Regions from separate parts of the Homo sapiens genome. Here regions 2 and 3 are each linked to region 1. Evidence: promoter capture Hi-C in human tissues and cell types (Jung and others, 2019). All regions are on one chromosome and are shown on one strand. The core of a region is centred on a gene start or on the middle of the fragment in contact, and the rest is flanking DNA. Distances in the headings are between cores, read along the strand shown. Region 1 holds the start of ANKRD46 (ankyrin repeat domain 46). Region 2 has its middle 38 kb from the start of RRM2B. Region 3 overlaps STK3 (serine/threonine kinase 3).

Region 1 (3,805 bases), core at 585-3,084:
TCTTCACCATCCCTACATTTTTTCATATCAATCAAAAGCAGTAATTCATGAAGAGGAAGAGATAAATTTGAATAGAAGTAATGGAGAGGCTCTCAGATTGTTGGATGAGTCAACTAATGAAGAGTAAATCTTATTAATACATTGGGAAAAGCTTTAATTTCCTTGCTAATTTGTCATAGTTTATAGGCATCAGTGAAGATATTATAAACTCAATACACAACCAGAAGGAGGACATCAATAACAAACTGATTAATAAATGTCATCAATTTAACAAGTAATATTGCTGATTAGTCATAGCACAATAAAATGTGAAATGCCCTAAGATCTTATAACTTTTTTTTTTTTGAGATGGAGTCTTGTTCTGTCACCCAGGCTGGAGTGCAGTGGTGAGATCTCGGCTCATTGTGACCTCCGCCTTTTGGGGTTCAAGGATTCTTGTGCCTCAGCCTCCTGAGTAGCTGGGATTACAGGTGTGCAACACCGTGCCTGGCTAATTTTTGTATTTTTGTAGAGCCAAGGTTTCACCATGTTGGTCCGGCTGGTCTCGAACTCCTGACCTCAAGTGATCTGTCCACCCCAGCATCCCAAAGTGCTGGGATTACAGGTGTGAGCCACCGTGCATGGCCAGATCTTATAATTCTTACATGAAAGAAATGTAATAGTGATTTCCTCTAATATGACAATAGTCCTAAACCTTTACATGACACTTTCAAGAACAAATTATTAGATGGTGTAGGTGGTCCTTGAATGAATGAACCATGAGATACCCTAGAGCAGGGGTGTCCAATCTTTTGGCTTCCCTGGGCCACATTGGAAGAAGAATTGTCTTGGGCCACACATAAAATACACTAACACCAGCAATTGTTGATGAGCTAAAAAAAAATTGCAAAAAAAAAAAAACTCATAATGTTTTAAGAGAGTTTATTAATTTGTGTTGGGCTGCATTCTAAACTGTCTTGGCTGCATGCAGCCTGCAGGTGTGGGCCAGGGGTTGGACAAGTTTGCCATAGAGCGTGGCTTGGTTGGATGAGGGTGCTAGAATTCAGAGGACGGTCACTGTGCAGTGAGAGTTGTCTTGGCTGTAGGACTGGAGTTGGTAAAATGAAAAAAAGAAAAAACTAGTTTTGCATGAAAGAATGTTTCCAGCATATGAATGTCCCACCACACTTTTAGTTAGTCTTGGCTGTACATGTTGCAATAAGTCAAGGAACCCTACAAAGTAGGATGGAAGGATTCAAACTGCGAATCGCTTGAACCCGGAAGGCGGAGTTGGAGTTTGCAGTGAGCCGAGGTTGAGCAACTGCACTCCAGCCTGGGCGACAGAGTGAGACTCCGTCTAAAAAAAAAAAAAAAAAAAAAGATTCAAACTGCTTTTGAAAAAAGTAAAAATGCAGGGTTATATTTTAGAAATAGTGCAGCCAATCATTAGTGGCTATTCCTAATATGTCAATTTCGGGTCTATAGAAGACCTACCTAGAGGCCAGCAACTATTAATTGATGCTTATAGCACCTAATGAAACTGCCCTTGCCTTTGAAGCCCCCATTTAGCTAAGGGGATGGGATGTGAATTTAGAATAGGACGTGAAAAGTGCAAAATGCTCCCGGACTCAGATCGGATAAACCTCTTCTAGGCTGTCTTTCTCTTCTGAAGCCACAGTTTTGATGCTTTCCCTAATTCAGAGCAGGCTTTCCCGGAGTCTCTGACTCAGAGCAGCCCGAGCCACCGTGAGGACCGCCCACCTGCAGGGGGCGCGCCGGGGGCTGCAGCGCGAGACCGCTCTGGCCCAGCGGGGACTCCGACTACCCCTGTCTGGCCCCTCCCCTCCGCCCGTCACCGCCTCCTTGAAGCTGCCGCTGTCGCTGCTGCTCGTTCGAGTCGCAGGTACTTGGCCCGGGGCCTGTGGGCAGCGCCTGGGCTAGAGCCACTTGATATCTCCTGCACCGTCCCTGTAGCACTGGAGGTCCAGTAGGCCTGGCCGGGGCCCTGAGGGGCGAGGGTGCCCGGGCTTCCCACACCTTCCGCGGCGACTGGAGGGAGCCGGGCCGAGGAAGCGACCGCGGGTCCGTGATGGCTTCTTCGCGGTCTGTGTGTTCACGAGGGCCGGGCAGAGGCCTGCGAGGGTTCTCGTTTGCGCTTGCGGGTTAGGGCTGTGGTCCGGGGAACCCCTGGGCAGCGCGGGCAGCCCTGGCTCGCGGTTAATCGGGGGGTGGAGCGCGGAAGCCACGCCGCAGGTCCAGCTGCTCGGCCGGGGCGAGACGGTGCTTTCGCGGCGTGTGCTTGCAGGAGCGCACAGTTCAGGCGCCGGGACAAGCTGTTGGGGTGTGAGTGAGCTCTCCAGAATGGCACATGGCTCCGGGGTGCCCGGGTTAAAAGGAAGGATTTGCACACCTTCCACTTAGGGCTCGGGTAATCGCAAACTTCCTCCCTTAATTGGCTTGCAGTGCTAAAAAGCAGATCGTTCTCTCTGAGGTTTTCCCAACAGTACCTCAAGAAAATAACATCTGTTTTTTGTAACGTTCCACGGTATTCGGAATTGGCTACAGAACATAATAAGGTAAAAATATGCCATTGAATAGTAGCGCTTCTCAATCTTTAAAAAATGACGGTGGTACCTAGGAGCCTCTTAAAGAGCTGTAATATGAGTGGTGTGGGGATTATTTTTATGTTCTAGTAATAGCTATTTTCAGTGCTTATTTTATGTCAGACACGGTGCCATTGCTTTAAATACCTGGTACCTTTAATCCTTGAAGCAACCCTATCAGGTACCATTTCCATTATACAGATAAGGAAACTGAGGCACCGAGAGTCTGACTTCTCCAAGGTCAGAAAGCTAGCAAAGGCTGAGCGAGATTTGGTCTCATCTCCCTTACTTCAGTATCCCTGCGTCTGTTATCTAGCCAAACATGTAGCGCTGTCTAAGAGTTTTATCAATTAGATTTGTAGCCTGAACTGATTTCTCTCAGGCTTAGTTTTCATGGTTATATGCAGGAGTCCTACATGAACTCCTTTTTAGTTTAAAAGGAGTTTAGTAAGAAAACTGTTAGCTCATTAAGGACTATAGTGATAATAAAGTTAAACTTGGACTGGGGTTCTCACTGTGCCAGTACAATTTGATTTGAAATAGAGATGAATTTGTTTGGTTGTTAACACACTTTATTACATTTCTTCATTATTTATGTTTCCATACCATTTTTTAGTGAGTTCACTTTGCCTTTGCATTATTATGGTAGCAGTACCAGAGGGAAATCAAAGATTTTTTGATGATAGTAAGTTAATATTTTACAGAATACAGGAAAGGCACTGGAGAGAGGATGTGAAGTGATAAGGAATTTTTGGCATGTTATATAAATTGTGTTACTATGGAAAACAAAGGATTCTCACAGTTCTTTATCAAAAGGGAAATTGTATTTCCCATTGTGGAAATAAGTTGGGCTTTATAGTCCCAAACTTCTTAGCCTTACCTATTATAGATTTAAGAATTTGCATATTCGGCATTCATATAGCAAGCGTATATTGAGTGCCTTCTATGGCCAGGCTCTGTTCTAAGCACTGGGGGATGTGAGAGTGAACAAAATGAAGTCCTTGTCTTCCAGGAGCTAACATGTCACTGGAGGAAGGTGGGGTTGGGGACGATAAGCGGGATTTGTGAAAGTTAACGTATCTGGAGTCAGATGGTAACAGTTACTAGGAATAAAAATAAAGTAGCAAAGGGGGATAGGAAGCACCAAGGAAGGAACAGGTGCAGTTTTAAAATAAGGACTGGTGCCATGGAAAAGACTCAAGCAAAACTGAAGGCGTTGGGGA
Region 2 (3,570 bases), core at 666-3,165, 1.6 Mb before region 1:
TATCTCCTTCAGTGGCTCCCCATTAGCCAAAACCAACTAGGAGCAAGAGGGCAAGGGAGCTTGATGCCGTCCTTACAGATCAGCCTCCAGGCGTAGGGTGGAAAATGGATCTGGACGACATATAGAAGATGTGTCACAAAGAGTGTTGGAAATTATTGGTACTTTCCTCAAAGAATTACAAGAAAGAGATGAGCTCAGGAAAGAATTAGTGAGTTTGTAAGAAAAACCAAAAGGAAATCAGACTCAAAAAATTAAGTACCTTGCAGGCTGAAAAAGCAGGCTGATTGTAAACCCCCAAAATAAGAGTTGGGATTGAGAAAAATTCTTTTTTTTTTTTGAGACAGAGTCTCACTCCGTTGCCAGGCTGGAGTGCAGTGGCGCGATCTCGGCTCACTGCAACCTCCACCTCCCGGATTCAAGCAATTCTCCTGCCTCAGCCTCCCGAGTAGCTGGGACTACAGGCGTTCGCCACCATGCCCAGTGAATTTTTGTATTTTTAGTACAGATGGGGTTTCACCATGTTGGTCAGGATGGTCTCTATCTCTTGACCTCATGATCCGCCCAACTCGGCCTCCTAAAGTGCTGGGATAACAGGCGTGAGCCACCGTGCCCAACTGAGAAAAAATCTTGAGATAAGAATTCATCAAGACAATCTTGGCAAAGGTAAGAAGAGGGGTGTGAGAAGGTAATGTAAGCCTCCTGAGAAGGTGGGATGATGGAAAGCACAGGTGGAGGGCTTGACCTCAGACACTTCCTCTATTGTAGCAGGAGGGAAGCTAGGGAAGGTGGATGGATGGTGATGGGGTATGTCTGTAGTTTAGTGAAGAGACATTGTAAGCTTGTTGTTTGTTGACTTAATTTCTCTGTGAAAGAGATGATAAGGTCACCTCCTTGGGAAGTGGGGGTAGGGGCAGCGAGGGGAGGTGTGAAGAAGCAATTGTGGAGGATGGAGAGCCTAGTAGATTCAGTTTGCCTTAGTGTATGGTTTTTCTCTAGCAGCATTTGCTGCTAGGGTACAAATATGTAAAAACTGGATTGTTGCATTCACAATGGGTTTTTTCCTGGATTTTTCTATGTATGGTAAAATGTATGTATGTATGGTAAAATGCAGGTGAGGAACAGAGTTAAGGCTATTGATAGGAATGCTACTACTAGTAATATGATGGACTCCGGAATCTTAGCTGGATAGAGAGACGTGAAGAGAAGAGGTTCATGGATTGGGAGAAAGTAGATGAGTGAGAGAACTTGGGGGTCTTGATTAAGTCTAAGAACTGTGGTGGGGGGAGTAGGTGAACAAGTGCTCTGGAAGGGGAGGAGATTGTGGTCAGAGTGAGGTGCTAGAATTGGTGATTCAGAACATAGTAAGTGTGGGAGAAGGAGGCTGGGGTTTGTTGCTGGGGAAGTGGGTGGGCTCATTGGTGATGAGAACCTCAGGGAGCTGAGAGTCCAGGGTTTTGCATCTTGGGTGGATCCTGAGAGCCAAGTGTTTAACTCTTCAGTGAAAGAGAGGTACTGTCAGGACAAGATGAGGAGTAGGAGAGGGAGGTATAGCTGAGTTGTGAGTCTTAAAAGAGCAGGGTTGTAACAAAATAATGTGGTGTCCATGGTCTGGAGGTGTCAGTGGGGATCAAAGAGGACCCCAGCTCAACTTTCCCCACATACCTGAGAGGTCCATGGGGTGTGAGAAAATAAAAGCTTTCTTTCCAAAGGCGACATGGGAAGAGTTCCCAGGGCAATGCCCTGTTTCAGGTAACATAAGGCCCGCAGAGGAAGGCACCAACTGACTGATTTTGGAGAAGGGGTTACCAAAGGCTCAGGGCCAGCATTTGGGAGGGATAGACAAGTGAGGCTGGGTCAGGAATGGGGCCATGTACAGCACTATCAGGACTACGGTGAGGCGACCGTAGATAGCTGGGGGTGGTACTGACTTGTTAAAACTGGCTGAGTTGAGGTGCAGTGAAGATCCACCATGTGAAGGAAAGAGTTGTCCTGGTTTTATGGGACCTTGCTAGGTGATGTGTCTATGGCAGGATAGCACTCATTGTACATCTGGGCTTTCTGCATCCTGTGCCAACTCTCACAACCACATCTCCTGTTCTCTGATCATTTCTCCAGCTTAGCATGTTTACACATCATAGAAAGAAGGGGTGAGAAACATTCTCCTGTCGCCTACTCAATTGTCTGAGTAATGGTCAAAGGCCATGTTCTTTATAGTCTCTCATCAATAATGATAATGTCCAAGTTCTGACAGTAAAAGTGTAAGCTTCACTGTATCTTGGAAGATTTATTTCTCAGGAAATTAATAAATATTTATGCATACTTTAGAGTTTACAAGGTGATTTTGCAGTCATACCATTGCAATAATTTCATTGGCTCACCAATTTTATGAGAAATTGCTGTCATAATAATATCATTATTATTATGATAACAATGATATTTGGGACTTGAAGCTCAGAGAAGTTAAGTTCCTGTCCAAAGTCACACAACTAGTAAGGGGTAGAGGCATGACCCCAACCCAGGCATCATGGTTTAAATCGCATCATCTTTTCACTGAGTGCACCCAAATTTCTATTGCTAGCTGGTGGAAGTCAAGATGATTTTTTGGTGGGATACGATCCCTTTGAGCTACACACCCTCCATAACACACTCCATTGGCAGGTGTCAATTTAGAGCTTCATTTGTCCGTCTCAAGGTCATGCGGCATGGCTTGCTGAGAATTGTGTTTGAGCATCACTTCATGACTGGAATGGCAATAATGTTTGAAGACATTGGGACTGCAAGGGCAGTTGATACTTGTTTTTTAATTACATCTGGAAAATCTTCTTTGAAAAGTTTAGTTTGTTTGTTTGTTTGTTTTTGAGATGGAGTCTTGCTCTTTCGTCCAGTCTGGAGTGCAGTGGTGTGATCTCGGCTCACTGATCCCGGCTCTCTGCTTCCCAGGTTCAAGTGATTCTCCTGCCTCAGCCTCCCAAGTAGCTGGGATTACAGGCACATGCCACCATGCCCGGCTAATTTTTGTATTTGTAGTAGAGACACGTAGAGACAGGGTTTCACCATGTTGGCCAGGCTGGTCTCGAACTCCTGACCTCAAGTGATCTGCCCACCTCGGCCTCCCAAAGTGCTGCAGTTACAGGTGTGAGCCACCACGCCTGATCCTGAATAGTTTTTTTTTTTTAAGTAAAATAATTTAAAAACGTTAAGAAAAGAAATAGTACAGGTGAAACTCACAATGGCATGTCCGGCCAGTGGCTGCATATGACAAATTTTGGAAACCTGAGAACACATCACGTGGTCTACTGTGTAAAATGTTAGATGCTGCTCAAAAAATTTAGAGGAGTTTTCCAAGAAGTCTTGCCCAGAACTTAGGGTAATAAATTGGTGGCAAATAAAGATATGCTTGCTTCAATTTATTTAAATTCCAGACTGATATGTTTCGGATTTGTGGACCCGCCCGAATCTCATGTTGAATTGTAATCCCCAGTGTTAGAGGAGGGGCCTATTGGGAGGTGATTGGATCAAGGGGGCCAACTTCCGCCTTGCTGTTCTCATGATAGTGAGTGAGTTCTCACG
Region 3 (3,434 bases), core at 298-2,797, 1.9 Mb after region 1:
TCACTATTATGATTCCTTATATCAGGCTGATTCTTGAGATATGTTGTTTGCTTTAGGAATGATACTGATAATTTTTTTTTTTTTTTGAGATGGAGTCTCGCTGTGTCGCCCAGGCTGGCATGCAGTGATGTGATCTCAGCTCACTGCAACCTCTGCCTCCCAGGTTCAAGTGACTCTCCTGCCTCAGCCTCCTGAGTAGCTGGGATTACAAGTGCACGCCATCACGCCTGGCTAATTTTTGTATTTTTAGTAGAGACGAGGTTTCACCATGTGGGCCAGGCTGGTTTTGAACTCCTGACCTCAAGTGATCTGCTCGCCTCAGCCTCCCAAAGTGCTGGGATTACAGGTGTGAGCCACCACGCCCTGCTGATACTGATAATCTTAAAGAGAGAAATTTGATCATCCTTTCATTAGTAAAATGTGTAATAAGAAAGCTTATTGTGGGAAGAAGAGGTTCTCGATTATTTACCCCTTTAGCATTTTCCTGGAGGTTTAGCGGTCATTAGAAAGAAGTACTTGTGGCTAGGCATGGTGGCTCACACCTATAATCCCAACACTTTGGGAAGCTGAGGAAGGAGAATTGTTTGAAGCAAAGAGTTCAAGACCAGCCCGGGCAACATAGCGAGATCCCCATCTCTACAAAAATAAAAATAAGTTAGCCTATTGGGTTGGCATGTGCCTGTAGTTCTAGCTACTCGGGAAGCTGAGGTGGGAGCATGCCTTGAGCCCAGGAATTTTAGGCTGCAGTGAGCTATCATCACACCACTGCACTGTAGCCTGGGCAACAGAGTGGGGTCTCTTAAAAAAAAACACACACACACACACGGAAAGACATACTTGTTACTAGTGCTCTTTCGTAAGATTTTATCTAACGTGGCATTTTAATTATGGTTTTAAAAATATTTCTTTCCAGTTAATAGAAGATGAAATTGCAACCATTCTTAAATCTACATTGAAAGGACTAGAATATTTGCACTTTATGAGAAAAATACACAGAGATATAAAAGCTGGAAATATTCTCCTCAATACAGAAGGACATGCAAAATTGGCAGATTTTGGAGTGGCTGGTCAGTTAACAGTAAGTTAACTTTAATGGTTTTCTAAACACTTGGCTAATTTGTTCAGATTTGATTATAACTAAACTTCAATTACTTTTTGAGGGGGAATGGAAAGAAATGTGTAGTTTTTTAATTTTTGTGGAGAAGGAACCATAATTGAGCCAAATTTGAGTATTATTTAATTTATAATTTAGGGTGATTGAATGTGAAAATATATCTTATAATCAAAATGCTTAAATGTTCTAAAAGGGAAGCTACGTAGCTCATTTCTGTAGCTTTTATCATTGTAGCACTATCTTTAATGACTGTGTTTAATGATGGTAGTGTGGATAAGTTACCTGTGGACTCTTGGTTATTTTCAGAATTCGGAATTCCTAAGTATGTCATAACTAGTTGAAATTTTAGCAAAATAGTCAATTTCTGATATAATCTGTGGCATTGGAGGTTTTAACATTTTTTAAAAGTATGTTTGGCATACAGATTTCCTTTGTGCTTTTGTAGTAGCATTTATGGCTATGTAACATTATTGCAGGATACAATGGCAAAACGCAATACTGTAATAGGAACTCCATTTTGGATGGCTCCTGAGGTGATTCAAGAAATAGGCTATAACTGTGTGGCCGACATCTGGTCCCTTGGCATTACTTCTATAGAAATGGCTGAAGGAAAACCTCCTTATGCTGATATACATCCAATGAGGGTAAGAAAATTATGGTTTGCTGAAAATGTTAGCCTTATATAAGTGTTGCCGTTTTGTAATGTCAATGTAAGTAAATATAAACTAAATAAGTTCATTTAAATGTATTCTTTTTAAAAATGGTAAAATTACCTCTTAAAGATTAGTAACTGTTAACTTCTCTTCCTTCTGCATTCTTAATTGTGAGAAAAGAACTGAAGGCTTTGTATATCTCTACCATCACTGTTCTCCTCCCCCAAAAATATACTTGTAAAATTTTTGCTTGCTTTTCAATAGAAGAAAGGGTTGGTAAATCCTCTTTGCTCTTCAGTTTATTGTTTTCTTGATTGTGGTAGTGAAAGAGTTGGAAGTAATCATTTCTCACTTTTTTACCCACTCTGTGATTTATACCTTACTGTGTGTTTTTTTTTTTCTGCCTTTTCTCTTCTTTGGTCTGAGGATGGTATTAAGCAATCCTAATTTCTAATATTACTATGCACATATAAAGGAATTCGGCTAATTTTTTTTAATGAATGCATGCTGAGAAAATGGAATTCCTTTTTTGAACATCATTATATGCTTCTGTGAACTCTGCAGGATAATTTTTGAGTTTGAAATATATATTTTGCATATTCAAGTCTAATTGCCTGTGTTTCAGGGTTTGTGATGATATACTTTTTAGGTTTATTACTATGTGAATCATATAGATAAGTTCATCATCATAAATAGGTACACTGATCTTTGTATACTTATTGCCCTCTAGTGGCTGTAGTTATCTCAATAAGGATGTAGGAATGAGGGGAGGAGTGTATGTATGTGTGTATTTGTAGAAAAGAGAAGATAATATCATGGTGGCTGGAGGAATGTGAAGTAAATAGATAGAAAGAGGAAGAATGCATAAAAATTCAGATATTTTAGAATATCTGAAGAAGAATAAATTGGAATTACATCTGATATTATAATGCCATTGTGGGTTAAATTTCGATAATATAGGTAACAGTGTATTATACAGAAAATATTTAAAAATCTGTCTGCTGTATTGAAACATTTTAAAGAGAGTTTTTTTTTTTTTTCTTTTGAGATAAGGTCTCACTCTGTCACCCAGCCTGGATTGTAGTAGTGCGATCATGGCTCACTCGAGCCTCGACCTCCTGGGCTCAGGTGATCCTCCCACCTCAGCCTGCAGAGTAGCTGGGACTATAGGTATGCACCACCATGCCCAACTAATTTTTTGTAGAGACAAGGTGTCGCCATGTTGCCCAGGCTGGTCTCCAACTTCTGGGCTCAAGCGATCCGCCCACCTCAGCTTCCCAAAGTGCTGGGATTACAGCAGTGTGCCCAGCCTAGAGTTCTTTGAGTAATGTAATTGTATACAATATGTATCATCTTCCTGGTGTATATAAATTCCTTTTGGTAAATGAAAGATAAAAATGCATCAATTGTTTGAAAATAACTTGAAAAACAACAAGGTCAGCATAAAAACAGGAACACAAAGTCTTATTTCATCTCTGATCATTAGTTATCTGTGGTTCTTTTAGTTAGGATGTTTGTAGGGTGATCCTCAAAGTAGGTGTATTTGAGTTTGAATCAGTGAGGTTTACTAAATTACCCAAGGCAACCTAGGTAAGTACAAGAGCTGGGATTTAACTTAGGACTTCCATTATTACTATTCTGCTTCTTCCCTGTGTAAATCTTATTTT

What was found. Contacts are between HindIII fragments. The study calls those that stand out against the background at their distance.
Region 2: a contact is called between a fragment that was not itself captured here and the fragment with the promoter of ANKRD46 in region 1, in 1 of the 25 tissues and cell types used here (lymphoblastoid cells).
Region 3: a fragment that was not itself captured here is called in contact with the fragment with the promoter of ANKRD46 in region 1 in 1 of the 25 tissues and cell types used here (lymphoblastoid cells).

Annotation. Positions count from the first base shown.
Region 1 is chr8:100,557,788-100,561,592 of GRCh38, reverse strand. It overlaps ANKRD46 (ankyrin repeat domain 46), which reads left to right and starts at 1,834. Exons shown (of 5, transcript NM_001270377.2): 1 at 1,834-1,882. RefSeq lists enhancers at 1,531-1,670, 1,638-1,932 and a silencer at 1,671-1,840. The HindIII fragment of the contact is 6,170 bases long and covers 1-3,805 here.
Region 2 is chr8:102,199,553-102,203,122 of GRCh38, reverse strand. No RefSeq gene overlaps it. Among named protein-coding and RNA genes, the nearest start is that of RRM2B, 38 kb to the left of the region's middle. The HindIII fragment of the contact is 3,129 bases long and covers 351-3,479 here.
Region 3 is chr8:98,704,791-98,708,224 of GRCh38, reverse strand. It overlaps STK3 (serine/threonine kinase 3), which reads left to right. Exons shown (of 11, transcript NM_006281.4): 5 at 914-1,078; 6 at 1,591-1,758. Among named protein-coding and RNA genes, the nearest start is that of STK3, 120 kb to the left of the region's middle. The HindIII fragment of the contact is 3,570 bases long and covers 1-3,332 here.